Regions from separate parts of the Homo sapiens genome. Here all the other regions are linked to region 1. Evidence: promoter capture Hi-C in 16 types of primary human blood cells and fetal thymus (Javierre and others, 2016). All regions are on one chromosome and are shown on one strand. The core of a region is centred on a gene start or on the middle of the fragment in contact, and the rest is flanking DNA. Distances in the headings are between cores, read along the strand shown.

Evidence for each region. Contacts are between HindIII fragments. The CHiCAGO score rates a contact against its expected background, and 5 or more counts as called.
Region 2: a fragment that was not itself captured here is called in contact with the fragment with the promoter of CD82-AS1 in region 1 in 8 of 17 cell types (naive CD4 T cells, neutrophils, total CD8 T cells and 5 more); the score reaches 8.6 in naive CD4 T cells.
Region 3: a fragment that was not itself captured here is called in contact with the fragment with the promoter of CD82-AS1 in region 1 in 1 of 17 cell types (endothelial precursors); the score reaches 5.5 in endothelial precursors.
Region 4: a fragment that was not itself captured here is called in contact with the fragment with the promoter of CD82-AS1 in region 1 in 1 of 17 cell types (total B cells); the score reaches 5.8 in total B cells.
Region 5: a fragment that was not itself captured here is called in contact with the fragment with the promoter of CD82-AS1 in region 1 in 1 of 17 cell types (total B cells); the score reaches 6.8 in total B cells.
Region 6: a contact is called between a fragment that was not itself captured here and the fragment with the promoter of CD82-AS1 in region 1, in 8 of 17 cell types (naive CD4 T cells, megakaryocytes, total CD4 T cells and 5 more). The highest score is 12.1, in naive CD4 T cells.
Region 7: a contact is called between a fragment that was not itself captured here and the fragment with the promoter of CD82-AS1 in region 1, in 1 of 17 cell types (total B cells). The highest score is 5.2, in total B cells.

Annotation. Positions count from the first base shown.
Region 1 is chr11:44,603,337-44,607,512 of GRCh38, reverse strand. CD82-AS1 (CD82 antisense RNA 1) reads left to right here and starts at 2,176. Exons shown (of 2, transcript NR_182290.1): 1 at 2,176-2,495; 2 at 2,783-3,005. CD82 (CD82 molecule) reads right to left here. Exons shown (of 10, transcript NM_002231.4): 5 at 2,331-2,455; 6 at 2,084-2,158. The HindIII fragment of the contact is 7,514 bases long and covers 1-2,809 here.
Region 2 is chr11:45,106,686-45,110,861 of GRCh38, reverse strand. LOC105376652 (a long non-coding RNA gene) reads left to right here. Exons shown (of 6, transcript XR_931241.3): 5 at 3,542-3,754; 6 at 4,104-4,176. It also overlaps a transcript of PRDM11 not described here. Among named protein-coding and RNA genes, the nearest start is that of PRDM11, 38 kb to the left of the region's middle. RefSeq lists an enhancer at 1-224. The HindIII fragment of the contact is 3,233 bases long and covers 699-3,931 here.
Region 3 is chr11:44,136,990-44,141,165 of GRCh38, reverse strand. The region is part of intron 7 of EXT2 (exostosin glycosyltransferase 2); the gene reads right to left. Among named protein-coding and RNA genes, the nearest start is that of EXT2, 43 kb to the right of the region's middle. The HindIII fragment of the contact is 3,581 bases long and covers 419-3,999 here.
Region 4 is chr11:45,032,850-45,037,025 of GRCh38, reverse strand. The region is part of intron 1 of LOC105376650 (a long non-coding RNA gene); the gene reads right to left. Among named protein-coding and RNA genes, the nearest start is that of LINC02685, 61 kb to the right of the region's middle. The HindIII fragment of the contact is 3,020 bases long and covers 431-3,450 here.
Region 5 is chr11:44,940,164-44,944,339 of GRCh38, reverse strand. The region is part of intron 1 of TP53I11 (tumor protein p53 inducible protein 11); the gene reads left to right. Among named protein-coding and RNA genes, the nearest start is that of TP53I11, 8.6 kb to the left of the region's middle. RefSeq lists an enhancer at 378-1,026. The HindIII fragment of the contact is 1,417 bases long and covers 1,037-2,453 here.
Region 6 is chr11:44,918,953-44,923,128 of GRCh38, reverse strand. TSPAN18 (tetraspanin 18) reads right to left here. Exons shown (of 10, transcript NM_130783.5): 7 at 3,817-3,915; 8 at 3,130-3,312. Among named protein-coding and RNA genes, the nearest start is that of TP53I11, 30 kb to the left of the region's middle. RefSeq lists an enhancer at 1-331. The HindIII fragment of the contact is 5,797 bases long and covers 1-4,176 here.
Region 7 is chr11:44,311,175-44,315,350 of GRCh38, reverse strand. No RefSeq gene overlaps it. Among named protein-coding and RNA genes, the nearest start is that of ALX4, 3.1 kb to the right of the region's middle. The HindIII fragment of the contact is 4,661 bases long and covers 1-4,176 here.

The DNA of each region.
Region 1 (4,176 bases), core at 927-3,426:
AGAAACCGGCTCACTGGGGCCTGGTTCTAATCCACCCTGATTATATCACTAACTAGGTCCTAAAGAAGCTCAGTGCCATAGGACAGAAATGAAGACCTGACCCCATGACCATTTTTCTGGGAAAGGAATTTCCCTCCCTTAACTGCTGGCTTCCTGTCTCACAGCCAAACAAGCTGCTTTTCATCTACAAAATCCACTATTTTCCACTTTTGCCTTGACTGCCAGGAAGCTCAGTGCCCAAGTTAGCCCTTAGCTACCAAGAGTATCTTGTCTTGTGAAGTTCCATTAAGTTCTAAGTTCTATTAAATGTTATTTGTTGATGTTGATGTTGGTATAGTGTTTTCTCAGTTTCCTTCCAAGAGGGATCTCAGGCAACTTGACCTTCAAGTGGTGAAGGGCAGGAGCCTATCTGGCTGCCGGCTCTGCCACCCTCCCTGGTGGACAAGAACTGGTGGCACTGGAAGCAGGGACCCTAAGGGTCTGCTAGGCCACAGGCCATGTGCAGCAGGGTCTGGGGACGGGTGAACTCAGGACTCGGAGTCAGGGAGCCTAGGCTGTCCTTACTCCTTCATCTGCAGGACGGGGATTCTCCCACGACCTTGAGAGGGCCTAGTGAGGATCTGCGAGAGGAGGAGTGTAACGTGGTCAACACTGTACTTGGTATATGCTGTGCATGGACTCAACTGGAGGGATGGTGGGTGTTAGAGTCACTGTTATCTATGTTGTTATTGCTCTTCATCTCAGAGCATCTGCTTCTCCATCTGTCAACATAAAACCCTGCAGAGCCATTGTGAGGACAAGACGCTGTATGGAAAGTTTCTAGAAGATCCCACGTGCACACAGTAGGTGCTTCTTACGTGATAACTGTGACTCACAATTAACTGGCTCACCCAACAGCCATTCTTGGCTCCTTTCTCTCTTGTGCCTCTGTCTTTAGAGTCTGAAAGTTGGATACTCACATTCTCAGCCTCTTTTGCAACCAGGGGTGGCTTTGTAACCCAGTCTGGGGAAGTCTGTTGGAGGACTTTTTTTTTTTTTTTTTTTTGAGACAGGGTCTCACTCTGTTGCCCCAAGCTCTGTTTCATGGCTCCCTGTAGCCTCAACCTCCTGGCCTCAAGGATCCTCCTGCCTCAGCCTCCTGAGTAGCTGGGACCACAGGTGAACACCACCATGGCTAGCATTTTTAAAAATTTGTTTGTAGAAATGGGGTCTCACCATGTTGCCCAGGCTAGTCTCAGAGCAATCCTCCCACCTCTGCCTCCCTAAGTATTGGGATTACAGTCATGAGCCACTGCGCCTTTTCTGATAAAAGGGATGGCCATGTCTGGCACTGCCCACTTCCCCATCTTCAGGCCACAGCGGCACAGACATCGTGCCTGGTGCTGTGGCAGCCATCTTGGAACCACGAGGTAAGTGTCATAATGCAGGAAAGCCATCCCAGCGAGGATGCTCAACAGCCAGAACCAGGGCCTCTGAGCTTCCAAACCAGACTTCCGGTCAAGTCAACCACAGATGTCCTTCAACTTTAAGCCGCTGTAAGTCTGATTTTCTGTTTCTGAAAGCTGAACATCTCCCCTCGGACACAAGACTGATGTTTTTATTAACGGTCTCCTTCTAAACCTCATTTGTGGGTGAGTGGCATGGATTTAATAGTTGCTAAAGTATCTTAATAATAACAAGAATAACATTTATTGAGTACTTATGGTGCCATGCGCTATGTGTTTCACTCAGATAATCTCGAATAATCTTTGCAACCACTCTGAGAGTTCAGTTTTCTTATTGTTTCCATTTTACAGATGGTGGAACAGGCACATAGAGGCAAGCAGCTTGCCCAAGGCCACACAGCTAGAAAGCAGGGGGGTCAGGCTAAGATCCAGGCCCAGCGGGGACTGCCCACACCTGCCGCCTTCTCTTCTAACGCTCCCCCATTTGATCACAAGGAATAGTGTCCAGGAGGCCGTCCCTGACACCTACTGGATCTGTCTGTGACAACTGGGGGGGTTCCTTGTCCATCCCCCACACTCAGTCAATCACCCCCATGGTTGGTCCAGCCCAGTGAAGAGGGAGGGAGAGAGGGGCTTACCTTGCCCATGTTGAAGTAGAAGAGGGCCCCGGCCGTCACCTGGGCAATGAGGATCAGGAGCAGGAAAGCAAAGTACTGGGGACACAGAGCAGGCACAAAGTCAGCTGAGGGTCCCCGACCAGGTGCACCCAGCCTGCGTGCCCCGAGAGATGCTCTCCACCCGATGTTACGGCCAGCGCCGCGGTCAGGCTGCACTCGGCTGGATGAGAGGAAATGGGCAGGCAGCTGCGGAGGGATCCGTACTCACCAGCCCCAGCAGGCAGCGGACCTCGTTGACGGCGCCGATGCAGCCCAGGAAGCCCATGAGCATAGTGACTGCCCCCACGCCGATGAAGACATAGGCCCCCATCCTAAGCGAGCTGGAGGAGGTTTCTAGGGGGAAGAAGAAGTACAAAATCAGTGGGCACAGCAGGTATAAACACCTGGCCTAACCGTCCAGGTCTTCTTCCGGATCCCCTCTTTGGAGCCAGGGTGTTGGGGTCAGCTGCATTCCCCTGCTGGCTTCTCACTGCCCAACAGGGAACCAGGTCACCCCCATCCCCACTTGTGTCCCTCCCCCAGTAAAATTGCAATCCACACCCTCATCCAGCCTAAGCCCCTTCCCGGCTTTATTTTTTACTTCGTAAGGCTTCTCAGGATTGAATAGACTACATTTCACTGATTCTTCTTGCTCATTGTCTGCTCTCCCCCTCCACCAAGGACCTGAGGTGCATGAGGGCAGAAGCTTCACTTTATTCCTGGGGAACCCCCAGCTCGAACAGCGCCTCTCGCAGTGAGGTGCTGTGCACAGTGAATATCTGCGGAATTGACAGACAAGAGGCTGGCTGGTTCTCCAGGGGCCACTGACATTAAGATTCCAAGCTGATTTTTAACCCGCCTTCCTTCTTGTCCATATAATAACAAACACCAGCCTTTCTTGCCCACTCACTGTGCCTCATGGGCTTTCCACACGCCGTCTCCAACTCTGACATCACCCTGCCTGGCAGGCACTAGCATGGCCATTTCACAGAAGAAAAAAATGAGGCTCAGAAAGGCGAACAGGCAAGGGCCTGAGCTGGAATTTGAAAATATGCAAATCTCCAGTGCCACACTCTTTCCACTGATGCACGGGGCACATGTATTGCTACAGGTGTGCTGCATGTTCATTCGGCCAAGAAATGTTTACTGGGTGCCCACTTCATGCCAGGCACTGTGCCAGTTGCTGGGGATGCAGAAGAGTGACTAACAAGGTCTGACATTTGGGGGTGGGGAGTGGAGACAAAAAGTACACAATACAGGTTTTCTGGTTGTGTTGGGCGCCATGAAGATACCAAAGCTGGCTAACTGCAGAGAACTGCTGGGCTGGGAGAGGGTCAGAATGGGTCGACGAAGGCCAGCCTGAGCCAGTGACATTTGAGCCAAGACATGAATGAAGAAGTCAGCCAAGCAAAGATCTGTAAGAAAAGCATTCCAGGCAGGGAACACAGCAGGTGCAAAGGCCTGAGGAAGGAGGAGCTTGGTTATTTGAAGATTGGAAAGAAGGTGAGAGAACGGACCAGTGAGAGCAAGAAAGAAGCCCGGGAGGAAATGATGCTTAGGAGGTACAGGAATGGGCCTGATGGCTAAGACCCTCTTTAGAGCTACCTGTGGACAGGCCCATTCCGGGAGGTAGAGGTCAGGAGTCCTGCAGGGGCACTTGGCCAACATTTCCTAAGACACCCAACCCATCACACAGGGTAAAGCTCATGTCATCTCTAACTCACCAGCATGGGTACACTGTACCCCCAGGGCATGGGACGCACCTGGAGGGCGAGGGTGCTGGCGTCTCCAGAAGGCTGGAGAGTAGTGTGGATCAGAGGAGCCTCTTAGGGATGCAGATGCTTGAGTCCGTTACAACCCGACCAAGACGCTCCCAGCAGGAGGCCAAGGACCTGCGTTTTTAATCTGCTCCCCTAAGCACTGAGGCACAGCCAGGACCAACCCCTTTACCATCAGCAGGGAGAATACAGGCCTGGGGCTGGCCACGACTCCCTGGGGATCCTGGAGAGGCCGAGGTCCCCACCTTGGTCCCCAAGGGGCGTTAGTGCCCTTACAGAATAACTATCAAACTGGAG
Region 2 (4,176 bases), core at 1,066-3,565, 500 kb before region 1:
GCAGAACCAGTGGTTTCTGGGCAACGCAAAGAAAGGCGCCTCTTGTTTGGGATACTTTACTGCCATCTGCTGGACAAATGAAGTAACACCTTTACAAATGGGTGAGGGAATGGGATGTGAAGCTCCTTGCACCCCGCACCTGGATTATGTCCTGCACAACCTGTATAGAGCAAGCGAGGCCTTGCAATTCGTGGCCACCGGTCCAGGACACTCCTGAAGGGGCCTTGTTTGGTGAGGTCGTTGCGCCGGGGAGGCCAGAGCAGCGGCCTGTCCTCTTTCTGGGCACTTTAGCCCCCAGGTCAGAGGAGAGCCCCTTGGCGGTTCCAGCTCACAGATAGTTGGGTCCGGCTGCATGTTGCTTTCAGGGTATTTCTCCTACCTGGCCCCATCAGTGACTGGCTTAGAAGAAATTCCTCAAACTCCTACCTGGCCCTTTAGAAAAATTGTAATGCTATCTAAATGCCCCACCTCTCATCCCCACCCCCCTTTTACGTTTTCCTGGTGAGTTCAATTAGGGTTGGGGGTGACATGTGGGCAAGCCAGATCTCTGTAAGGGCATGTACTCAGGGCTCTCATTTTTCTGGCTCCGAAGCTTAGCTGCCACTTCTTGGGTCTGCATAAGGATTAGTTGTTCTTGGAAGAAAAATAAAAGCCACCCCGATCCAAGAAAGGAGATGAAAAATTCTTTGTGTGAAGCTTAGCATTGCCAAAGGTGTAGGTACTGTCCCTCCCAGGGGTGTTTGCACGCAAAGTGTATAAACTACAGAAATAAAGGAGAGGTTTGGATGAAGGTCACTTTGGGTCACTGAGTTTTCCTAGTCAGAATCCTGACATATAGAGGGCTGATAACCACGTCTATGCTATCAGCAGGTCACACAGGGCACAGATGCCCACCTGCTCACTGCTGCAGTGCCTCCAGCTTTGAAAGGAGTGGTGACTGTGAGCAACCCTGGACACTGGAATGGGGAGGAAACATCCCTGAACAGGGCTTAGAGAGTATCATGGAACCAGAGACTCAGAAAGGGAAGGAATTTTAGAGACAAAAGCCCACCCTTCCCCATCTAGTGCTTCAATCTTTCTACCTTTTTGCTACCAGAAGGTTATCAGCTTACACTTACATACCCCTAGGGACAGGAGCTCACTACCTGATAAGCAGGCCCTGCTTTCCCTGGAAAGATCTGACTCAGAAAGCACTTCCTCCCACCATCCTAAATCTGCCCTGTTCCATCTCCCACACCTCAGTCTTGGTTGTGGCCCAGTGGAGCCACAGAGAACAGATACTCTCCCTCCTCCGCAGGATAGCCTCTGAATATTTTGAGAATGAGTAGGGCTCCTCCGAGTGGTCTCCTTTCTAGGGAGAGTTGATTAATTAGGACTCTTTTCATCTGTGCATGGTAGAGACAGGGCCTCACCATGTTTAGGGGCAACATGAGGAATTTCTGGTCACATAGCCCTGCGACATCCAAGGTGATGCTGGGTCAAGGAGAGTGAGTGATGTTGTCAGGGCACTGCTGTCTCTGGGTGTCCCTTTTCTTGAGCTGTGCTATTTTCCTTTCAAGGCAGGGGTGGGTAGAACCATGGCCACTGGCATTGCCAAGCCTGCATCCTACCTGTAGTAGCAAGAGACCGCCACTCCTCACCACTCTGGGTCAGGGCCAACTGCAGTTTCAGAGGGACAGAAATAGGAGGTGACCCAAAGAGGGTGCCTAAGCACAGGTCAGAGGTGAAAAGTCAGACTCAACCTTTCCTGAGGGGCGGGGACAACATTTTTCGGTTTCCAGCCTTGAGTGCCCAGAGGCCTGTGGCCAGGGGTGTTGACAGTCTCACAGGCTAAGCCCCGACATCTTCCTGGAGAGGCAACTTTCTTCACTGGAAGTCATTTAAAGCCCTATTTTTAGATTTAAACAAAAATGGAAACATTATGGAGCAGAATGCAGAATCTGCGTGTATTTTTTGAGACAAAACCCAAGACTTCAAAGAAATTTCACACTTGTGTCAGCTGCTTCAGGCAGGCTGCCTGGCCTGCGGGTGCATGTGTTAATTCTTGGTTGGCATTAGTGGGTATTTCAGGGGCAGGCTGAGAAAGTCTGAGTGGCACTGGGCCTGGGTCCCCACATAGCTACAGGCAGGGCTGGGGAGAAATGGGTCCAAGGACTTCAAAGACAGCTGCCACTGAGAGGCCCCTGGTGCCTCTGGGCACCACATTCCCTGAAAGGAGGCAGCTCGTCCTCACTCGGGAGTGAGGCCCCACCATGAGGACACACCTGCCTCTGGAATCCTGTCCAAGGGCAGGAGCCAGAGCCCAGGCTGAGCAAGGGATCCGTGGGCCCCAGCAGGAAATGCCAGCCGAGAGTGCAGGAGGCAGTGCCTGGCTGCTGCTTCCAGCTTTTCACAGAGCAGTGGGCACATGGGCAGGAGTGATCTTTGAAATATTTAACCCCAGAAGCTCATGGGACCAACAGTCAGAACAGACCTGGCCTGGTACTTGAGCAGGTCCCAGGGGCCCAATTGGACCAAGGCCACCCCTCAAGCTGCTGCATCATGGGGAGACACGGGGATCCCACGTAAGAGGCCAGGGCAGCAGGGCAGCGGGTCACACTCATGGGGAATTAGACAGCAGCTATTTACCAACTGGAGTGGACACATGCTGATATTTTAACAACCAGGATGGCAGCACTGGCTGAAAATGAGCCACGTGCATGGGTCTGATCAAGCGAGATTAAGATGAATCCAGGGCGGGGTGCAGTGGCTCACGCTTGTAATCCCAGCACTTTGGGAGGCCAAGGCCAGGAGTTTGAGACCAGCCTAGTCAACATGGTGAGACCCTGTCTCTACTAAAAATACAAAATACACACACAAAATAAGTTAGCCAGGCATGGTGGTGTAGACCTGTAGTCCCAGCTACTTGGGAGGCTGAGACATGAGAATCACTTGTACCCTGGAGTTGGAGGTTGCGATGAGTTGAGCTCTCACCACTGCACTCCAGCCTGGGTGACAGAGCGAGACTCTGTCTCACAAAAAAAAAAAAAAATCCAACCCACATTTATTGAGCACTTATTATATGCCAGGAACTGTGCTGGAGCCTTTATGTATATTAACTAGTTTAATTTGTACAATGCCACGCAAATCTATCAGTTCATTTAACACTACAGAGGATTGGTGTGAAAGCAACACGGAAAAGCCAGTCAGCAAACCTGACAGGCTTAGAGGAACCCCACCCCTACCCCTGCCCTGTCCCCCACTCAACTAGAGATGGGCATTTCCTTAAAGGCAGATGGCACAGAAGTCCAGACCTCCCTCTTGGCTTTCCCACTGCACCCCATCCACCCTCTGTTCTGCTTCATCAGTTGTCCACATTTGACATTCATTAGACTTACTCTTCACAACTGTATACACAAAACCATGTGTATCCATGCTGGTGGGGAGCATAAGAGGTTCTCAAGGGTCGTTTTGTGTGTACCTAATTTTTGCCTTACTGATTTAGAACTTGCCCCTGAAATGGGCTATGACTCATTGAACTATAATTAGCCCCGTTTTGCAGGTGAGAAAGTGGAGTTCGAAGATGTCATCAGCCCAGGTCACACAGATGGTGGAGACCAGTGTGGAGCCCGGGAGTGGGCTGAGCAGAGCATCTGGACTTTGAGCTTCCATCAGACCCTGAGATAGTCACCTGTCCTGGCTGCCTGGTGACCCTGGTGTGCTAACGTGGCACTTATCTTGCTCTATGGAGGCCCCTGGGCCCCCTAAACACCAGGTGGGTGCCTTCAGCCAGCCCCATACTGACCTGTGAAGCCCAGGTATTGCTGGCCAACCCACCCCACTCACAGACAGAAGCAGTTCTCCATCTTTTGGCTTTAGCAGATCTGCTTCATTTCTCCTCCCCACAAAGCCTGGACTTTGTTCTGGGGGTATCCCTGTTTGCAGTGAAGCTTTTTCACTCAGTGCTCAATCTGAGCCCAACTCCACCCCACATCTCTGATTCATAGACTTTTGTGACTGCCTTGACCAGTAGAGTATGGCAGAAGATGCTCTGTAACTTCCCAGGCTAGATCTAGAAAATGCCACGCATTTCTGCCTTGCTCTCCTGCGACATCCACTCTTAGAACCCAGTTGCTGTGCTAAAAAGAACTCACAGACCACGTGGAGTGGAGCAGATGGGTCAGTGTCCCAGGTGGC
Region 3 (4,176 bases), core at 960-3,459, 470 kb after region 1:
ATACATAGGTCATATGCAAATACTATGCCATTTTGTAGCAGAGACTTGAGCATCCTTGAGTTCTGGTATCTGCAGGAGGTCCTGGAACCAATCCCCCACAGATACTGAGGGATGACTGTACTCTTCCCCACAACAGCTACACGAGTAATAAAATGAATCAGTATATTTTATTATTTGTTCAATGACAATCCAAGATCAACAGCTATATATGTTTGACTAACTTACTATAAAAATTCTTGCTTTTGCCTCAACCTCAAGTTAAATGACTATTTTAAATGGAACACACTTGCAAAACTGCTCATGTCCACTTGAAAAAGGAAAAATAACATGTTTGTGCCAAAAAGCTGTATACAGAGTAGTTAGAAATATATATGCCCATTGGATTTTGCTTATCACTACTAACCTCTTCCTAAAAGCTTTAGTTAGAAGAAGAGCAGGAAGATATAAAGTACATTCTAAGGGCTTATTCTACCCATCCATCCCCCTTTGGAAGTCAAAGTTGGAAGGTTTAAAGGAGAAGGAGAGTAAGGATGCTCTTTTTAAAATGCCTGGAAAAACATTCTGGGCAGGAGATGCCAAAGATTTTGAAGCTCCCATCAAACCACTGGCCTTGATCCAGGTAATGGTTTTTCCTTCCCCTCAGCTGTCTGCTGCAGTTTTCCAGCAAAGAAAGAAAGAAAAGTGGTAGGATAGAGGCAGGAGCAGCCTCTAGTCTACTTCTCTATAACAGAGAGGGTAAAAAGGGCCAAGCATCGCAGGCTGACATTTATGGAGGGCCTGGTGTTTCCATGAAACTCTCTGGGAGGATTATTGAGGGTTAACAGTCTGTTCTAAAAGGGTCAGCAAAGCAGACTGATGAAAGTCCCTTTAAATTCGATAACAGTGATGCTGCGGAGGCAGAGACAGCAGGCTGGAGCTGGCAAAGACACGCAAGCAGAGGTCCAGCCAGTCAGACTGCCTTTAGGAAAAAATTCATTGCAAACCTGGCCACCCTAACCCTTCAAGTTGCCCAACTCACTTGCTGAAGCGTGAAAGCACAAACTGCCAGTGGAATGGCATTTCTAATCTTGGGATAAAAATAAAAGCCCTTGGAAAACCCTCTTTTGCCTAACCCTTCCTGCCCTGCCCCTACCAGTGGCCAACGGCGAGGTTCCGGACCTGCAAAGGTTAATTATCTTGCTAGTCTTTCACCTCTGCACCACTGCCCCACCACCCAATCCCTTCTGCCTGGCATTTTTCTTCAATTTTAATATCAGAAGTTTCACACGCCTGCCTGAGCTCCTGGACTCAGCAGAAAGGCCCATATAGCTGTCAGCAAACTGATAAGGACTTTAAAATGACTCCACAGGGCCTCTTTATAAAGAAGAGCCAAAGAAGCCCATAAAGAAAAGGGCAGGGGCCACGGAAACCAGCCGCTCACACTGTTTTAACGTGGCATTAAAATGAGCTGCAGATTTATGGGAGTGCTTTAGCCCCTGGCCCAAATCATGTGGGAGATGAAGCTCGTCTCCCCTTTCCAGCGGGATTTCCAATAGGGGATGGAGCTGGCTAGAAAGAAATGGGGGAAGGGAGGCAGAGGCAGCAAAATGGGGAGAAGAGGAAAAGTGAAGAGGCAGAGGGCACCATGAAAATCAGATATCAGAACTCATTCTCCTTTCTGCAGGATGTGAACAGCTATTTCTAAAAGGTATGTGACCAGTCCTCCTAAATTCACATAAAAATGTCCTTTATTTTTAGCTTATACTTACTAGACTGTAGCTCCTCAGCTGTTTACCACTCAAACATCTATTCTGATTCTAACTTTCCTCTACAAGTTTTTTTAATTAAAAAAATGGATAAAATTATGATCAGGCAAAGAAAAGATTAGAAGGGGGAAAAGGCTCAGTACCATTTTTTTTTCCATTGGAAAGGGGAAAGAAAGCAATAATACTTTATCCAAATGTGCCAATGAATTAAAAAAAAAAAAAGGTCAGCTAAAGAGTCACTGATTTTTATCTCCCTACAAGTCATTCTGATCCTCACACACACACGCAAAAAAAAAAAAAGGAGAGAGAGAGAAGTAAGCCTCTTCCATGCCAAGATGTAAAATGTACACCAGAACCCACAGGAATAAATTCTCTTTCGAGTTTCCAAGCCCAGAAGCAAATGCATAATACATCAGTAGTTGTAACTTACTGTGGTTCTTTAAGACCACTCTGCATTCCTTGGAGGCTCCTTCTAATACTTAAATGCTGCCCCAGGAGGAGTTGTCCCAAATGACGGCCAGCATAGAGTGGGGGGCCAGAATCTACATGCTTTGAGTCAATCATCTCATTTAATCAATACAACTACTCCATACTATTATTAGCTCCACGTTATAGGTAAGAAAACAGAAGCTACAAAACTGGTACACACCCGGCAGAGCAGGACTCAAATTCAAGTCTCTCCAACTCACAGGCCCACTGGGCTTTCCAGTACCAACTTTCCTCAAACTTTCTGGACTGGGACCCACAGTAAGAAATACACAAATACATTTTATGCAACAACTCACTACTGGAACAAAAGCTACAGGAAATATTTACCCTTACTCTGTATAAAGCTCTCTAATAGTTTCCTATTATATTTCATTAAAAAAAAAATGCCAGTCGTGACCCACTGAATTGACTTCATGATCTGCTAATGAATCATTACCTTCGGTTTGGAAAATACTGCAGTACACCATGAAAAAAAAACAAATCATCAGACTGGGAGTCAGGAGACCTAGGTTCCAGCTGCAGACTAGGCCTAACAATTCATTCTCAAGATTACTGCAACTCTAGGGCTTACTTGTCACTTGTAAAATACAAGGAAAGGGTTGAATAATTTCTAAGGTCCCTTCCAGCTCTTTGATTTCTTTCCTAAATCTCTTCAATTATGTTCACTGCTTTCTCCTTGCCTCACAAATCTTTTCATTACCTTCCGCTTGTTAGTTACCGTCCTTCCCTTCAGTTCTCAACCAAGTTCTCTGTTGCTGGTATTCAAAGCTCTCCCCTGCCTCCCGTGCCTGTGCCACCAGATGCTCCTCTTACCTACTAGTCTCTCCACAGAACCTCCTGGTGGAAGTCAGTGCCCTGATGTTCACCCTCTCTATCTGAGGCTACCCAGTTGTGAAGATTCCTTTCACCTTCTGATCCACTCTGATCTTGAGGTCATTCCTGGCTCTCCTTAGCATAACTGAGTACACAGCACTCCTGGCCTTATAATTTATGTATTACTGAAAGTTCTCTTTCCAGCAACCTGAGGGCCTTTCTTAAAGACAGGATCTGTGCCCACCCTTTTTAAAATCTCCCTCAACATGCCAGTACAATACTAGGAACAAAGCAAGTCCTTAATCCATATTTATTTAACTGATTGCATTATGAAATTAAGGACCCTAATTCTCCTAAATTTAAAGAATGCTTAGGTGAGCTACTCTTAGAAAAGTCACCAAACCAATTAAAACTGGTATCACAATAAGATGAGTGACTATACTACACAGTCTAAATTCCACATACTACTCAACTGTATTTGCCTACAGACAAGACAGACCAAGGCTACCAGGGAAAGTAGCTTTATGGTCTCTCCATCTAGACTGTGAGAATTTAGATTTGCATTATGAAATTAGGGACCCTAATTCTCCTAAATTTAAAGAATGCTTTGGTGAGCTGCTCTTGGAAAAGTCACCAAACCAATTAAAACTGGCATCACAGTAAAACGGGTGACCTATACAGACTAAGATCCACATACTACTCAATTGTATTTGCCCACAGACAAGACAGACCAAGGCTGCCAGGGAAAGTAACTTTATGGTCTCTCCATCTGGACTGTGAGGATTTAGATCTCAGAAGCTATACAAAACAACTGCAAATCAGTCCAAACCTTAAAGACAGGAAAATTTATTTACAGGCCCTAGTGCATTGTAAATCTGAGACAGTTCTATTAAAATGCTTTTCTTGGCTTCCCATCATCAGATACTTGGTAAAAGTCTTTTTCCAACAAGCTTCTTAATAACAAAGTTGAAAAAAATAGTTAAACACATAAAAATGGTCTTCTTTAAGAATTCCAATTAAATGAGACCTTATTTTATGCTGCTTTAAACAACACATGTTGACCACTTTCCTTCACAATAGGGATATACATACTAGGAAAATTCAAACAGAATATAGAGTGCTACTGAAA
Region 4 (4,176 bases), core at 691-3,190, 430 kb before region 1:
CAGTGGACTGGCTTCTCCTGGATTAGCCATTCACCCCTGGTCCAATCAGCTACGGATGTCAGGGAAGGCATCACGTGATACAAAACGGCTTCTCCGATGTGCCCCTCCAGCTGGGCTGTGGGTGTGAAGCTCTCCAGGGACAGCTGGAATTCCCTCAGGGTTCATCCTGGCATGCTGGGGCCCCGAGTATGTCTCCTGGAGACCAAGGTAAGGGGCCCTCAAGGAGACAGTCTTGCTGATCAGTCCGTCAACCCTCCCTCTGATGACATTTTTCTTCAGGCTGCCTCAAAACTGTCTGTTTTGCTCCTAGAAGGGCGAGCCATTCTCTGTTCTTGGTGGTGATGTGATCTTCATCCAGCATGGGGAAGGGGCTTGCATCCTGGTTCTGCCTTTTGCAAGCTTCATGATCGTCCGTTCGTCTTTCCAAGCTTCCATTTCTTCATCTGCAGGATGGAGATGGGATCCCTGCCTCACATGTCGTGGCAGGGCCAAAGATAGCAAATGTCAACAGCCTAATCTGGCACTGCAAATACTAAAAGATAATGGCTAGAATAACAACAACAACAATAATAATAATTAGCAATATATACTTACATGTGTTACAGTAGTTGTTGCCCCTTGGCCTGTGAATTTTGAGGGGATAAGGAGTGGGGTCTCTTCATGCTTGGGGACCTGATTAGTGGTATTAAGGTGTGGTGTGACTCAATCAATGACACCTTGAGCCTCCTTGATGCAGGGAATAGACGGCAGGCCTCTGAGGACCCAACAACTCCCAGCGCGCCAGCTCTCACACCAGCCATGGCCTGGCAGGAGGAAGGGAAGTGTCTGCAGTAGGCATAGCTCTGTCTCTGACATGGGGCTCCCCCAAAGCTGCTCACCCTAGGGCCCAGCACCCTAGGATAAGCCATGGGATGCCCTGGCTAAATTCTGGAGATGGATAGCTCCTTGGTGGATTTTGCAGACCCCTTTGCTCTTTGTCAGCCTTCTGGGGCTGCAGCCTGCTCAGAGCACTGTGTTGGACTGGAGTCAGGACTGGGTAAGTACGTAAAATTTAAATTTGTAAGTTCAGTTCCCAGGTAGTAGCCCTGACTGAAGCTCCAGGATCTTCTGTGTGTATATGAAGGGTCTACAGGGCATGGGAGGCTGAGCCCCTTGCTTGCTGGCTTTAGAGTTTGGGTGACCGAGATGGCGGCTGTTGGCCACCCTACTTCTAAAGCCTAAATGATTGTCATCATGCCCTTTGTTCTAAGACCTAGTGAAGTTCAAAGCCTTCTTCTATATTTTTCCTAACTTCCTGCAGGGGATGGCGGGGAGGTAAGGGGAAATACTCACTTCTCAGAGTCTTTCTTCCTCCTGGTCCCCAGTTTCCTGTAGCAGCTATCTCTGAACTGTGCCTCACTGACCCTGACATGAAATCTGCTTGGTTTCCGGAATAGCAGCAACAACAAGAATTCACATAAAGCATTCGTGAAATTAACATCTTTTACGAAAAATTGTTTGGAAAGCCTGGGGCTGGGCCTCATCTCAGAATGCACAGCCATATATCTTTCCCTGGGTATTTCTTACATTTGCTAGCAGTGTAGAATAGTGGTTATAGGCACAGACTTGGAGCCAGAGTGTCTGGGTTCAAATCCCAGTTTTGCTCCTGCTTAGTAATTTTGTGATCCTGAGCAAATCCCCTTGCCATTTGGTGCTTCTATAAAATGGGGATACTAAGATGTCCTAATTGGTTGTTCTGAAGCTAAGACAAATTTTAAAAGTTAATATTTGTAATCTGCTTACAACCATGCCTAGCTCATAGGAAGCGCTACGTAAGTGAGTGACAAATGTGACTCCAGTTATGCTCCTCAATTTCTCTTGAACGCTGGGGCTTATGAAGAGATTCACCTCACTAGATGGCTGTGAGGATGAAATGGCATGTGTCATGAACATTTGCTTTTGGCTTTCAAGGGGTGGTACACATCATCAGATATCCAACTCCCATCACATTTGGGGAGCAATTCTCAGTTGCCTCTAGTGTGGGTGGGTCCCGTACCCTTTCCTTCCACGGAAGTCAGTGAGGGGTCCTGAAGTCTTTCCTCTCCACCCCCTGGCAGTTGGTACCTGGGCCTGTGACGTTGACTCCACCTGCAGAACGCTGCCCTTCTGGATCTTGTGCAAAGATGCAGGAACAGACGGGAAATCCTTCCCAGTGGCAGCAGTGGTGACATACCCCAGCCAGCCTGTCCATTAGTATGATGGGGCTGGGGTCCTGCCCTGTGGCTAGTTTGACTCCTACCAGTTTTCTAAGCCTGATTCCTCACTCTTGCCAACAATTATCTAGGCTGCCCAATCTCATCGGTGGCAGAGACTTGTGGATCCTCCCAAGAGCCATCTTCCTGCTTATGTAGTAATAGATTATTTAGCTGGGCCAATGACTGCTTAGATTACAATGGCTTTTCCAGGTTCCCTTGTTCCAAGTGTGGCCATTGACTGTGCTGTGGACAGCAGGTGTGAGCAGAAGAGAGGTGGGCACCTTCCAGGTGGTGCCTTCCAAGGAAGGAGCATTCCTTCCCCCTTGCTTTCTCCCTTCCCTCCTGGCTAGAATGTGGATATGGAGTAAGGCTTCCTGGACCACATCCTGAGGGCAATACCTAGGGTTAGGGGATCCACAAACCAGGGCCTGAAAACTTCTTGAAGCAGAACCACTGCTATGATTTCAATGGTTATACCCCTCCAAAATTCATGTTGAAACTTAATCCCCAATGCAATAGTATTAAGAGATGGGGCCTTTAGGAGGCAATTGGCCATGAGGGCTCTACCCTTACAAATGGGATTCATGCTCCTAGAAAGGGCTCAAGGGGTTCTGTTCACCCCTTCACCCCCTTTTGCCCTTCTGCCATGTGAGAATGCTTCAACAAGGCTCCATCTATGAAGCCCTCACCAGACACTGAATCTGCCAGCATCTTGATCTTGGACTTCCCAGCCTCTACAACTGTGAGTAATAAATTTCACAGCTCACCCAATCTGAGCTATTTTGTTATGGTATCCTGAACCAACTAAGACAACTACCATAACATTTTGGCTACTTACTGAGAAAGAAAGAAATCTCTGTCTAATTTAAGCCACTGTTATTTCTGGGCTCTCTCTTCTTTGCATAGCCATGTGCCTTATATTATATCTAACTCATATACCTTCTAATAGATTTCCTCCACTGCTTCAGCTAGCCACAGATGGTTCCTTTGCCTTTCTTTTTTGTTATTTTCTGTTCTTTTATTTTCCTTTTCTCCCTCTCTCTTTTTCCTTTCTGTTCTTTTTTTGTAATCCAGCACCTTGATTGCTGCAATACATTAAAGCACAAAGTACACATCTTCCTTAGTGCAAAGCAACGTATCAATAAATATGAAGTATTCTTCATCAAGCTGCAAAGTCTTCCCCCTCACAGGCAGCATCCTCCCTTGCCCCAAAGCTTTGGCTCCAGACTCATGAGTTCTTACCTTCCTCCCTAAGACTCCTCACAATATTTTTGTCCAAATTATGTTACAGTTCCTCTGAGGCCTGATGCCAGCTGTTAAGTTAATAAAAGTTTCTCCACTCTGATATGTTTGTTTTGTTTTGCCTGGGAACCTGGTGTCCAGCATTTCTGTTCCTTTGATCTCCGAATGGAAAACAAATTCCCAGGAACCCAAGCCCATGGCCCACGGAGAGAGGCATGCAGAGTAGAGCTCAGCAGCCCCTGAGCTGCAGCATCAGGTGGCGTATCAGAGAATGCTGGATCTGGATGGGCCCTAAGAGGCCAGGTGGGGAAAGTGAGGCTGTTGCTGGATGTCACATGGCCAGCCAGAGGCCACACCAGGAGTCTTGCTTCCTGGTCAACAATTCTGCTGCTGAACCAGATAGTCTTCTGGGTTGTCCCTGTGCATGTGTGTGAGAGACACAGAAGAATCAGATGTGGCTCCCTCCCTCCAGGAACTCACAGGCCCAGAGAGGAGCTGAGGCATGCTCCCTAAAGTCAATAGCATGTGATAGAAAGTGATGGTGACAAAGAGGGCTTGGGCACTCAGGCGGAGGGGGTGCTACTGGTCTCAGAGGGAGCACAGGAAGACCTCCTGGAGGAGGGGGCATTTAGTTGATCTGGAAGGATAAGGGGGTTAGGATGTGTGATTCAGGAAGAGGCAACTGTTCATGCCACAAATG
Region 5 (4,176 bases), core at 496-2,995, 340 kb before region 1:
TGCCCGGAGTTGTCCCAGGCTCAGAGAACAAGACCCAAAGAAATCCTTGCCCTGGGGCACTCCCCTGCGAGTGATGCCACAGCTTTCTGAGGAGGTGGGGCAATGTCAGAGGCCAGTGTTCTCATCCAGTCCTCTAACCTTCACGGCTGTCCAGACCCCCCACTGCCAGGTCCTCTGCCAAGAGCATTTGCACCCCATCTCCTGGAGTCTTCAGCACCCCATGAGTAAGGCAAGTAAGGCGCTGTGGTGTGATCCCCATTGTATTGAGGGCTGAGACTGCTCGCTTAAGGCCACCTGACCAACAGAGAGTGGCCACTTTTGAACCCAGTTCTGCCTAATTGGAAAGCCCTTTCCTGCCCTATGCCACCAGCTTCCATGTGGCCTGGGGCACAGCCTCCCCTCAGCCCGCCACGTCTAACCTGTGGGCTTCTGAGTGTGCTGGTTGGGCTTAGCCTGACAGCTGCTCATTCCACCTGTGTTGACAAAGTGCCTGCTGTGCACCCCAGCCTCACGGGGAGATACACGGAGGAGCACAGTACAAGCCATACCTTCAGACTGGTTGGTCTTGGGGAGTCAAACTGCCGTGAAATGACCAGGAGTAGAGGCTATAAGTGGCCAGTGGCTGCAGACACTGAGACCCGTGAGAGTCCAGAGGAGGATGAGGACCCAGTGCCCTGGGAGGGCCCTGGGAAGAGGGGCTGTGTGCAAGATAGCCTGGAGGAACAAGGAGCATGGTGGGGGGACAGAGTGTCCCAGGGACCTTCTCACTTGTGTAAAGGGTCAGCAATGAGAACCACTGTTGAAAGGTTTGCTGGCTGATCGGGAATGTGGGCGAGAGCAGCTGGCAGGGCAGAAGGGAAAGGTTCAGGATCCCAGGCCTGGGCCCTAGGAGCCATGTCCTCCCTTCTTGCCAGACAGGTGATGTGGGTGGAGGAGTGGCTGTCCTTGCTGCCCCTGCCCCCAGCCTCCTGCAGCCTGGCTCCTGGGGGAAACCCCCGGGGGCCCTTCAGAAGGCAGTGGGGCAGAGCAGGAAGCTTCACAGCACTGATGGCAGGCTTTTTCCACTGTGCACGGCTGAGTGGAGAAAGGGAAGTGGAAGGAGGGCCAGACTCCTCCCTGGGCAGGGCACTTTCCCCATGGGTGCCCACGTGCACTCCTTCTTTCTCTCTCCACCAGCACGTCTGCGAGGTGAGCGTTCTCACTACCCCCATTTCACAAGAGGGGAAACTGAGGCTAGGAGAGGTGTAGTGACTTGCACAAAGCCATGCAGCTGGCAAGAGGGCAGAGCCAAGACTCAAACCCAGGTCCCCTGCCCCCAAAGCCGGGGTTTGGCCATAGTGCACGGTGGAGTCTTCTGTCCTCACTTAGGCCTGAAATAAACACCTGGAGTGGCCCTGAAGGGGAGGAAAGGTCAAGGGGAGACCTCAGGGGTGTGTGCAGCTTGCCTCGCCAGTGGGGCAGGTGAGGGGCTGCTGGGTGGATCTGATCATTGCAGGGCCCAGTCCTGGGGGTGAAGTAGGGGTGGAGCGCCGTTCTCAGAGCAGTTATCTGTGCTGGAAGGTGGGTGTGGGGCCCTCCTCCCTGGAGGTCAAGATTCCATTTTCTCTGTGGGGCCACATGGGCCCTTTGTGAGTGATGCCCTCCCTGCTAGGGTGGGCTTGGGAGGTGGGCACAGTGGTTCCCACCAGCTCAGATGTCTGATGGCAGTGCCCGTGGATGAAGATTGTCCCACCCATGAGTAATTCTGTCCAGGACACTGTAGTGCCCACTCTTCCCAGCCCCAGCAGGTGGGCACTGACACGTCCCACAGCCGTTGATTTGCAGCAGCTGTTGTTGACTCCGTCCTGGGATGCAGAGGGGAATGCTCTGTGTGTGTATGTGTGTGTGTGTGTGTGTGTGTGTGTGTGTGTATGGTGTGTGTGTGTGGTGTGTGTGTGGTGTTTGTGGTTTGTGTGGTGTGTGTGTATGGTTGTGTGTGGTGTGTTGTGGGGGTGTGTGTGTGTGGTGTCTATGGTGTGTAATGTGTGGTGTGGGTGTGGTGTGTGGTATGTGGTGTGTGTGATGTGTGTGGTGGGTGTGTGTAGTGTGTGGGTGTGTGTGGTGTGTGGTAGGTGTGTGGTGGGTGTGTGTGCGTGGTGGGTATGTGTGGTGTGTGTGTGTTTTGTGTGTGCATTGTGTATGGTGGGTGTGTGTGATGTATGTGTGGTGGGTTTGTGTGGCGTGTGTGTGCACGTATTGTGTGGTGTGTGTAGTTTGTATGGTGTGTGTGTGGTATGTGTGTGGTGTGTGTGGTGTGTATGTGTGTGGTGTGTGGTGTGTGTGTGGCGTGAGTATGGTGTGTATATGTGGTGTGTGTGTGTGTGTACTGTGTGTGCAGTGTGCGTGTGTGTGCATGTGTTGGTGGAGAGGGGTCAGCAGGCAGAGGAAAGCAATGCATCCAATGCCTGGAAGCTTCTGCCCCTCGGAGGTGGGCCGTGGACACAGCCTGGGCCTGGTGGGCAGTGGCTGAGCGCCAGCCTTGTGCCCGGGGACTGAGATCTGGGGCTTTGCCCAGTGGGGCGGAGAAGTTAAGAAGTGTTAGTTAGATCCATTTCCTACTCCTCCATGGCCTCCATCCTGGTGCCACTGCCACATGGGAGGCCTGGGGAGGGTGGCAGTGTCTGTGTCTGATAATTGCCTGTCTTCACTGGGGACTTGCTGTGGGCCAGGCACTTCCCCATGGCTTCATGGAGATTACAGCTTTTATTCTCACAGTATCTCTATAAGATAGGACACCTTATTTTCCCAACTACACCTGGGAAGACTGAGGCACGTAGAGGTTAAGTGACTGACCTGCCCACGGGCACACAGCCAGGCAGTGATGGATCTGGGATTCAAATCCAGGGAGCGTCCTCAGCAGTTAAGCACTTACCCATTAGGCCTTCTGGCTTGAGCAGTGAGCTGGCTCTTTCTAAAGCACTGTCTGTCCATTATTTTGTTTCTCCTGAGACCAGCTGTAGGGGAAAAGTGAGGTTGGCTGTTTTCGTTTCACAGATGAGGACCCCGGAGCTCAGAGAGGAAAAGTAACTTGCTCTAATCAGTGGCTAGCAGATCAGCGCCCCCTCCCCCGGCCAAGGCTGGGAGCTCTTTCAGGATAGGGGGCCTGTCCCACCACCCATGTACCTTGCTCACAGTAGACCTCACTAAGTGCGGATTCCTCAGGCAAATGTGCAGGTGTTTTGCTGAGTGCTCTGAGCTTTTCTTTTTGCCCCGGGCTCCCTAGGAAGTGGGAATGATGGCTCCATTTCACAGATGAGGAAACCGAGACTCAGAGCACAAGGCCACACAGCAGGAAGAGGTAAGGCAGGACTGAGGGAGGCAGCACGTCTGGCCTGGGAGAGGGGTTAACCAGCCAGGAGGAGCTCGTAGAAGGGCTGAAATAAAGACCGACCTTACCGAGTGTTGGTGAGGATGTGGAGGAACTGGAACACTACTGCATTGCCAGGGACACGCAGTGGCATGGCTGCTCTGGGAAACAGTTTGATGCTTTCTCTGAAAGTCCAACAGGGATGTACCACACAGCTCAGCAATTCCACCCCTGGCATTTACATAGAGAAATGAAAACTTACGGTCCCACAGAAACGCGGGTTTGTAGCAGCTCTATTCATAATCATCAACAACTGGAAACAACCCACATGGCCTTCAGTGACCGAATGGATAAACAAGCTGTTACACGTACCCCAGGGAATACTGCTCTCCAATAAAAAGGAGCGGACTCTTGATACACACAGTGACTTGGAGGAATCTCAAAGGCATTCTGCTCAATGACAGGAGCCAGCCTCAAAAGGTTCTACGCTTTATCATTCCACTTACATGGCATATTTGAAAACACAAAAGCCATAGTGTCAGAGAATAGATCAGTGGTTGCCAGGGTGGAGGTGTGAGGGGAGGGAGTGGCCAGCGCCAGGGAGTTTTTGGGGTGATGGAACTGCTCGTTGTCTTGATCTGGAGCTGGTGGCTACAAAAATCTATACGTGTGCTAACATTCAAATAACTGCACAACTGAAGCCCGTCAATTTTGCTGTATGTATTAAAAGATAAAAGGCCATGGGGAGGCTGGAAGAGGAAGGGCGTGGGCCAGGCAACATCCTTGGCTGAGGAACAGGTGAAGGACCCGGTTCTCACCAGTGGCTTAGT
Region 6 (4,176 bases), core at 918-3,417, 320 kb before region 1:
CTTCTTTTTTTCTTTTTTTTGAGATGGAGTCTCACTGTGCTGCCCAGGCTGAAGCACAGTGGCATGACCTCAGCTCACCGCAACCTCCGCCTCCCGGGTTCAAGTGATTCTCCTGCCTCAGCCTCCCAAGTAGCTGGGATTATAGGCACATGCCACCACGCCAGGCTAATTTTTGTATTTTTAGTAGAGACGGGGTTTCTCCGTGTTGGCTGGGCTGGTCTCGAACTCCTGACATCAGGTGATCCGCCCGCCTCGGCCTCCCAAAGTGTTGGGATTACAGGCGTGAGCCAACGTGCCTGGCCTCCAAAGGTTTCTTAGACGCAACATGCCCCAGACTGAATGCAAGATCGTCCCCAAACCAGAAGCCAGTCACTCAGCACCTCCTCCTGCCCCTCCTCCAATGAGGACCCATCACGAAGGCTGGTAGATTTTGCCTCCTGAACATTTCTCAGATCCACACACCTCTCTGTCTTTACCGCCATCACCCTGGTCTTACCTGCTGTCCTTTCTCACTGGCACCAGTATAAAAGCCCCCTGTCTACCCAGGTCCACCACCAATGTGGACCAGGGGGCCACAGAGCAACTAGGATGTCCCTGTGGCCACGCCATGCATCCCTGCACACCTCACCCCCACCCCAACCCCCACAGTGAACTCAACTCTTCCCAGATCCTTGCCATGGGCCTGCCAGCAAAGTCAGAAATGTATCCTAGGGCCGGACATGGTGGTTCATGCCTGTAATCCCAGCACTTGGGGAGGCCAAGAGGGTGGATCATTTGAGGTCAGGAGTTTGAGACCAGCCTGGACAACATGGTGAAATGCCGGTCTCTACCAAAAAATACAAAAATTAGCTGGGTATGGTGGCATGTGCCTGTAGTCCCAGCTACTTGAGAGGTTGAGGTGGGAGAAACACTTGAACCCTGGAGGTGGAGGTTGCAGTGAGCCAGGATTGTGCCATTGCACTCCAGCCTGAGCGACAGAGCGAGACTCAGTCTCAAAAAAAAAAAAAAAAATGCATCCTGGGCTTTAAGCAAGAGGGCTTTGGAGGAAAAGACAAATAGAGACAGTTCCACAGCAGCAGATTTTTAACGGGACGAAATGCCTAGGAGGGACATGAATGTCTCAGCAAAGAAACCCCAGGAGCCAGTCTCAGACCCTCAGGAACAACAGAGTCACTGGAAAGAATGAATGTGGCTGTGCAGGGACCTCTCTGATGAGCTCTGATTTTGAAGACATGCCCAGGAGAGGAAAGGAGACATCCTAACGGAGGATGAGTCCAGAAATGGGAAGCACATCTGATGCGGGGAATGCGGCCCATGGGAAGCCTCCTGAAAACTTACAAGTAGCATTAAAAGGTTCTAAGTTTGGCTGTTGGCAACGGGCATCTCAAACAACAGCTCCTTCACCAAGTTACAAATTCACTGGTCTTTCACATAAACCCCACGCTATGGTGGCCGCTGTATGCCATGGAACTGTACGTGGCCCAGGCTCCTTCTCTCTGGATGCTCTGCCATCCTAGGGGCCACCTCCCTCTGCCAAGTCCTAGCCAGAGAAAAAAGGAGGGGTGGGCACAGCACTTTCTCTTAAGGATGTGACTCAAGTTGCACAAATCACCTCTGCTCACCTCCCGTTAGCCAGAACTCGGTTACATGGTCTAGCTGCAAGGCAGGCTGGGAAGTGCAGCCTCTAGCTGGTGGTCATGGGGTGTGATAACCATTCCCTTCCCAAGAGAGTAGGGGTGAATGGATCGTGGGGGGCAGCCAGCAGCCTCTGCCAACATATGGAATCTGAGGTCCAGCGAGGGTGTCTTGGCGAAGGCAACACAGCAGTTAACAGCCCACCCCTGCCTGCCATGGAAGCCTGAAACTCCCCTCCCCGCCCTGCAGCTGCTCCCCACGGCAGGTCTCTCTGCCCCACGTCCACAGTGGCCTCAACTCAGGGCCCTCATTTCTCTATTGAGCCTCTTTCCCCCAATGCAGGAAGGCAGGGTGATGAGGGACAGAGAGAACGTGGCCCTCAGGGCCTCAGGAATCCATGGGGATGTGCCAGGGCCAGAGGGGCTGAGTTCCTGGGGCAGAGCTGAGGCTGGAAAGGGCCCGCCAGAGCCCCAGGACCCAGGCCTCTGCTCACTGTCACCTCCTCTGGGACTTTGCAAGTTCTGCCTTGAGCCCCCACCCAAGGCCCATTCTAGCCCCTCATCTGGTTTTATTTCTTCGCAGCAATCATGACCATGTGAAATGATTACTTCTCATTAGTTTGCTGCTTGTTCATCTTGCGCGTCCTCTAATGAGATCGTGAGCCTCGCAGGAACAGGGGCCTTGTCTCCTGTCCCCTGCTGTGTCTCTTGCATCTGGAACTCTCCATGAGACCCTCGTTAAAGTCCTACTCAAGCAAGGGGGCTGGGGCCCAGGCTTAGATCACCCTCGTCCTCTCCCTCCCTCTCCTCCTGCCTAGCCTGGTCACACACCCACACTGGCAGAGTGGGGGCTGGTCAGTGGGAAGAAGGGGATTAAGAGCAAGGGCATTGTGAACTCATAAGGGTGTGTGGGCAGGAGGCACACAAAGCCAGGCGCTTGTCTTCCCTAGAAATGGCACGTGCAGGAAGGGAAAGGGTTTCTTCCAAGGCTGCGAGGAAGTCCTCAGGTTGCAAGAGAACCTGAAGTCTAGGAGCTTCTCTGACCTTGGAGAGTCAGGTCAAGGAGACCTTGCTCCCTTAGGGTGCCCCACATGGCAAATAAGAGCTTCCTCCAAAATACAGTGCATGGCTAAGAAGGGCCCCCCACTGTGCAATTCTGGTTCTGTCCCCCTCCCTCCCTTTGGACCTGCATTATCAGAAACTCAGGAAACATCGGGAAACTCCTACTCACCCCTTAGCCCCAGCCTGAATGCCCACTCCAGCGGCAGACCATCTGCCACTGTCATCCTTCCCCATTTTGGTTGGATCTCAGGGGCTTGGACAGAGAGCCTCCATCAGCCCCTGCTCAGGTGCAGGCATCCCATATCATGGCCAACACTTCCCTGGGATTCCTGGGGTAGCTTCAGACCCTCTGGGGTGATAGCGCCTCCCACCCAGCTCTGGCCACCCAAATCCCGATAGACCCACTCCCCTGTCTGGAGAGCAGGGCCAGTACCTGCTTGTTTAGGAATAGGCTCCTTCCCAGGAGGCACTCCTCCCGGCTCAGCAGGACCCCGTCCCGACTTTGGGGTTCCCTCCGGCAGCAGGCCTCCGGCACCTCTTCACTATCCAGGGTCAGGAGTCGAAACACAGATGCAAACTTAAAGTCTTCAGGCCCGTTGACCCCGCAGCAACCAAACTAGGGGGAGATCCCAGAGAAGGTTCTGGTGGGCAGGAGGAGGACACAGGGGCGGGGACAGAGAAGGACATACAGCCTCTGCAAAGGAGTGGCATCAGAAGACTGGGTGTGGGCGGGCTCCACCTGTCACCACTGTGTGACCATGGGAAAGCCACTCAGCTTCTCTGGGCCTTCAGTGTCCTCATCTCTATAACAGAGGTGGCAGTAACAATTCCTACCTCACCAGGCGCTTAGCCATCCATAAACAGTTGCTGTGGTTATTATCATCATCATAATGACCATTGCTTGGGGACCCAAGACAGGGAGAGCAAACAGGTTTCATCCCGAGTAGGGACTGTGATCAAGTGGCATGGCTGCCTGGAATGCTGCGTGGATGGTGATTCCAAGGCCAGGTCTGTGATCAATGGGAGAGTGCCTGGATTGATTACTGATGCCTGGCGTGGGCATGTGAACACTGGGCATCGTGGCTCTGAATGTTCATAGCATCTCTGGGGCGTCACTCACTGTGATCATGACCGAGTTCCAGGTGGCAGAGAAGACGTCTGTGTCGTTATTGCCCTGGTAGTGCTTGGTGAGCTCCTTGGTGAAGAATTCTCGGGTGAGCTGGGGGCAGAGGGAGAAGATGGGCTTAGGCCTGGCAGTTGGGTGCAGCCCCCACCCTCCATCGTCTCTCCATCCACCTGCTTGGGAGTTGGGGGAATGAGAGCTAGGGGCTCTGCATCCTGGTGCCAGGTCCCCTGGGATTCTCCTAAACCACCAACTTGGGGCAGTCTTCTTATCCCCAGTGGAGAAAGGAAGTCCATACACATGCACATCTCGGTGGAGCCGAGGTCAGGGCACGCTGAGGACCTCACTCCACCTGCA
Region 7 (4,176 bases), core at 708-3,207, 290 kb after region 1:
GAGGCCAAGGTGGGTGGATCACGAGGTCAGGAGATTGAGACCATCCTGGCTAACACGGTGAAACCCCATCTCTACTAAAAATACAAAAAATTAGCCGGGCATGGTGGCACACACCTGTAGTCCTAGCTACTCGGGAGTCTGAGACAGGAGAATCACTTGAACCTGGGAGATGGAGGTTGCAGTGTGCCAAGATCGTGCCACTGCACTCCAACCTGGGCGACAGAGTAAGACTCCATCTCAAGGGAAAGAAAGAAAGAAAAAAAGAGAGAGAGAGAGGGAGGGAGGAAGGAAGGAAGGGAAAAAAAGGAGGGAGGGAGGTAAGGAAGGAAAGAAGGAAGGAAAGGAAGGAAGAGAGAGAGAAGGAAGGAAGGGGAGAAGGAGAGACAAGGAAGGAAGGAAGGAAGGAAAAAAGGACAGAGGGAGGGAAGGAAGGAAAGAAGGAAGGAAGGAAGGAAAAGAGAGAGAAGGAAGGAAGGAGAGAGAGGGAAGGAAGGAAGGAAAAAGAACGAAAAAAGAAAGAAAGAAAAGAAAGAAAAAGAAAGAGTCTGCTGTGCTCTCTCCCCACTGGGCACCCTCTAACCAACTCAATCCCCCACCCTTGGGCTCTACCGGAGCCACCAGGACTGGGCAGCTACCCCCCCAGCCAGGGGCAGTCCTCTGGGCTATTCATTCAATCATCTATTCAATATATTTTCTGAGCAGCACTGTGTGCCAAGTACTGCACTCAGTACTGGGGAGACAGTGGCCAGGGACTTGCATTCTAGGAAGAACACAGACAATAAACCAAGTACATTAACAAATGTGGGAGATAATATCAGATCACGGTAGACGCTATGGAGGAAAAAGACGATGTGACGGGGTAGCTAGGGTGGCGAAGGAAGGCCTCAGCGAGGAGGTGACACCCAGCACTAGGGTTGAGGAAGAAAGGCTTTTCTTCACCATGTTCCCACACCCTTCCCAAGTGTGGAGCCTGGAGCCTGAGGCCACAGAATGTGGAAGCTGCCTCCTGGAGGGCTGACTGGGAGAAGCAAAAGGGAGGGAGAAGGGGGCAGCCAGCGGAGCATTTGCCAGGGGTGGGAGTGCAGGACTAGAAGCAGTTATCATAGCCTTCCACCATTTGCAGAGCTGGCAACTTCCAGCCAAGTGGTGCACATGACTTCATGACTTGCTGAGGTGGGTGTAGTCCCCTGGGTCTCCCAGTACACAGTGAAGTAACTGGGCATGCAGAAACTGCCTGGCGTGTGAAGGAACCTGACAGGAATCAGGCAGCAAGCCAGGGAGAGCCTCAGCTGCGGGAGAAATAACGCACCTGGAGAGCAGCAGTCAGGCCCAGACTCAGGCTCCAGCACTCTCCCTGTGGCCAGAAAGCTGGAAGGATGCCCTACATCCTTGCTTAAGAACCAGATGGGAGTGGTTCCACTTTCAACTACGGAAGGACCAATAGAGGAACAAATGATTGAACACAAACAGAAATAACCAGCTGCTCTTATTACCACAGTCCCTGGAATGTTTTGGAAGGGACCTAGGAGAGGGAGTCGGTGGAGGTTTGCATGAGGGCTTCAGGTCACACATTCAAAGGACTTGCCCGGAACGTTGTCCCCAAGGCACTTTCTCACTTGTTGGCACTCGCTCATTCTTCCTGGATGCATCTATAAGATAAAATGCGGAGGACTAAAGGCGCTCGTTCCAAGGACACAGGGTCTCAGGCAAGACAGGAAAGATTCTGGCTTAGGGCATGAAATCCTTGGGTTTGAATATCCAGGTGGTCAGGGAAAGGTTGAATAGCGAGGCAGTAATTAAACAGGTAATACAAGCTCAGAGTGTTTAGGTGGTAAGAGGCGAGGTGATGCTCAAAAAATGCTTCATGAAACACAGCAAATTTTTGCATTGGGTGCGCCTGGTTCAGAGGTTCTAGGAAGAGTGTACAATTGCAATTGTTCCTGTCTCGGGGTTGTCATCCCCACCCCAACCCTCTCCACCACAATTTGCCTCTCATAGTCCTTCCCTCATTTTTTAGACAGGAATGGAGGTGGAGAAAGAAGCGGGGGTATTGCCACCACCTTCTGGGTGCCTACAGGCAGCTGCTGGGCACAGGAGACTGGAGTAGGCGGCTGGCTTGGAACTCCTTGACAAAAAAATGCATCTCTAAGCCCCTGGGAACCATAGGACACTTTCATTCATTCACTCAACAAGCATTTTATGAGTGCCAAGCCCTACAGCGAACAAGACAGACCTGGCCCCTGCTGTGAGAAAACTCACTGCTCTCAAGGCACAGGCTCAGGAAGGTCCAGCACGCTGTTAATTCCGCTACTTGATTTTTGAAGAGGGGGTGGGTGGGTGACCAGCTGTCCTTGACTAAGGGAAACCAAAGAAAGAGTCTCAGAACTTGGTGCTGCACTGAGCAGTTGGAATACACTGAGGTGATAGAGTCCTACAGCCCCAGGTTTAATCTTTATTTTATTTTATTTTTATTTATTTATTTTTTTTTTTGAGACGGAGTCTCACCCTGTCGCCCTGTCGCCCATGCTGGAGTGCAGTGGCACAAACTCGGCTCACTGCAAGCTCTGCCTCCCTGGTTCACGCCATTCTCCTGCCTCAGCCTCCCAAGTAGCTGGGACTACATGCGTCTGCCATCACGTCTGGCTAATTTTTGTATTTTTAGTAGAGACAGGGTTTCACCGTGTTAGCCAGGATGGTGTCGATCTCCTGACCTTGTGATCCATCCTCCTTGGCCTCCTAAAGTGCTGGGATTACAGGTGTGAGCCACCGCGCCTGGTCCAGGTTTAATCTTTTATTCCACAAATATTTGTGGGGTGCCAGGCACGTAGGAGGCTGCCCTGGGGCAACTAGTGGGGTTGAGATACACTCATAGCCAGGCAACCAGACAACCACGAGATCTGGGACGGAGATGAGGCAAACGGAAGCGTCAACTTAAACTAGGAGAGACGGGAAGTCTTCCTAGAGGAAGATGCTCTAGGCTGAACTCTGAATCATTAGCCAGACAAAAGTGCAGGAATGAGTTTAGGGAATTCCAGGTAGGGGAAACCACCTATGCTACAGTGCACAGGCTAGAGACCTTGGCAGGTTCTAGGAACTTGAAGAAACCGCTGGACAGGAGCATTTAGGATGATGGCAGGAGCACTCCGCTTTTTGCTAACTGGAAAATTATTTTGGTTGAGTCTCAGTCTACCCATATGCAAAATGGGTATGATAAGCCTTGTATTGCCAGATTGTTGGCACAACAGGAGCTCAATAAATAAAGGACTCTCAAGTGGCTTAGGTCTGCGGGCCAGTGAGGCGCGGTTCCCATTGGGCATGGAGTGGGGGGCGGCTGGAGCCTGCGCGCTCCTGGCTTGGTTTGCGGAATATCTTTATTAACGAGCACTTCAAGGTAAGCCGGCGATGGAAACCAGATGTGGGATCGCGCGGTCGGCGGCGGAGCAAGGACCAGAGATACTAAGGGGGTAGGGTGGGGGTAAGAATTAGCCCAGATGAGATTGGGAGCAGAAGCGCGACCCCCCAGGTATATTTTTTCTTTGGGAGACCTTAGATGCAGAAAGTTGACATCTGACCCACATTCCTTGGTTCACGGTGCTCAGGCCCTCTTTAATTTTACCTTGCACTTTTACCTCTCACCCTACTCCCAGACTCCCTAGAGGTACGTTCTCGCTTAACGATTTTCTCAGCGGTTTAAGGAAGGCTGCTCTCGCTGGTCTCCTTCAACTTGAACCATTCCACAGCCGGGGGCCAGTTTCCCCTCTGCATCTACGCTGTCCGCACGGCCTTCCAGGTCGGTGGAGGGACTAGCCTGAGCAGAGGTTCCAGGGCGCGACGGCTATTTCCCAGCTGTGTGACCTGGACCAGGTGGCCGCCCCTCTCTGAGCCTCCGTTAGCTCATCAGAAAATTGGGGGCGCCAATCTCTAGCACGGTTGTCATGAAGCGAAATCGAGGGGCTGCACGCGCAAAGTTTTTTCCCTTGCTGTGGCGGTGCCAGGGGCCTTGAGGCTCGCAGTGGTGGTGAAACCACAACCTATCAAAACCAAGCAGTTCGTTTTACAGTCGGGGGCAGTGAGGCCAGAAAGGGAAGAGACGGTCTCACCCCTCTCCCCGACCCCTGACCCCAAGGAGTGAACAGGTGACAGCGCGACTATCGGGCAAGGTCAGGGGGTCTCCAG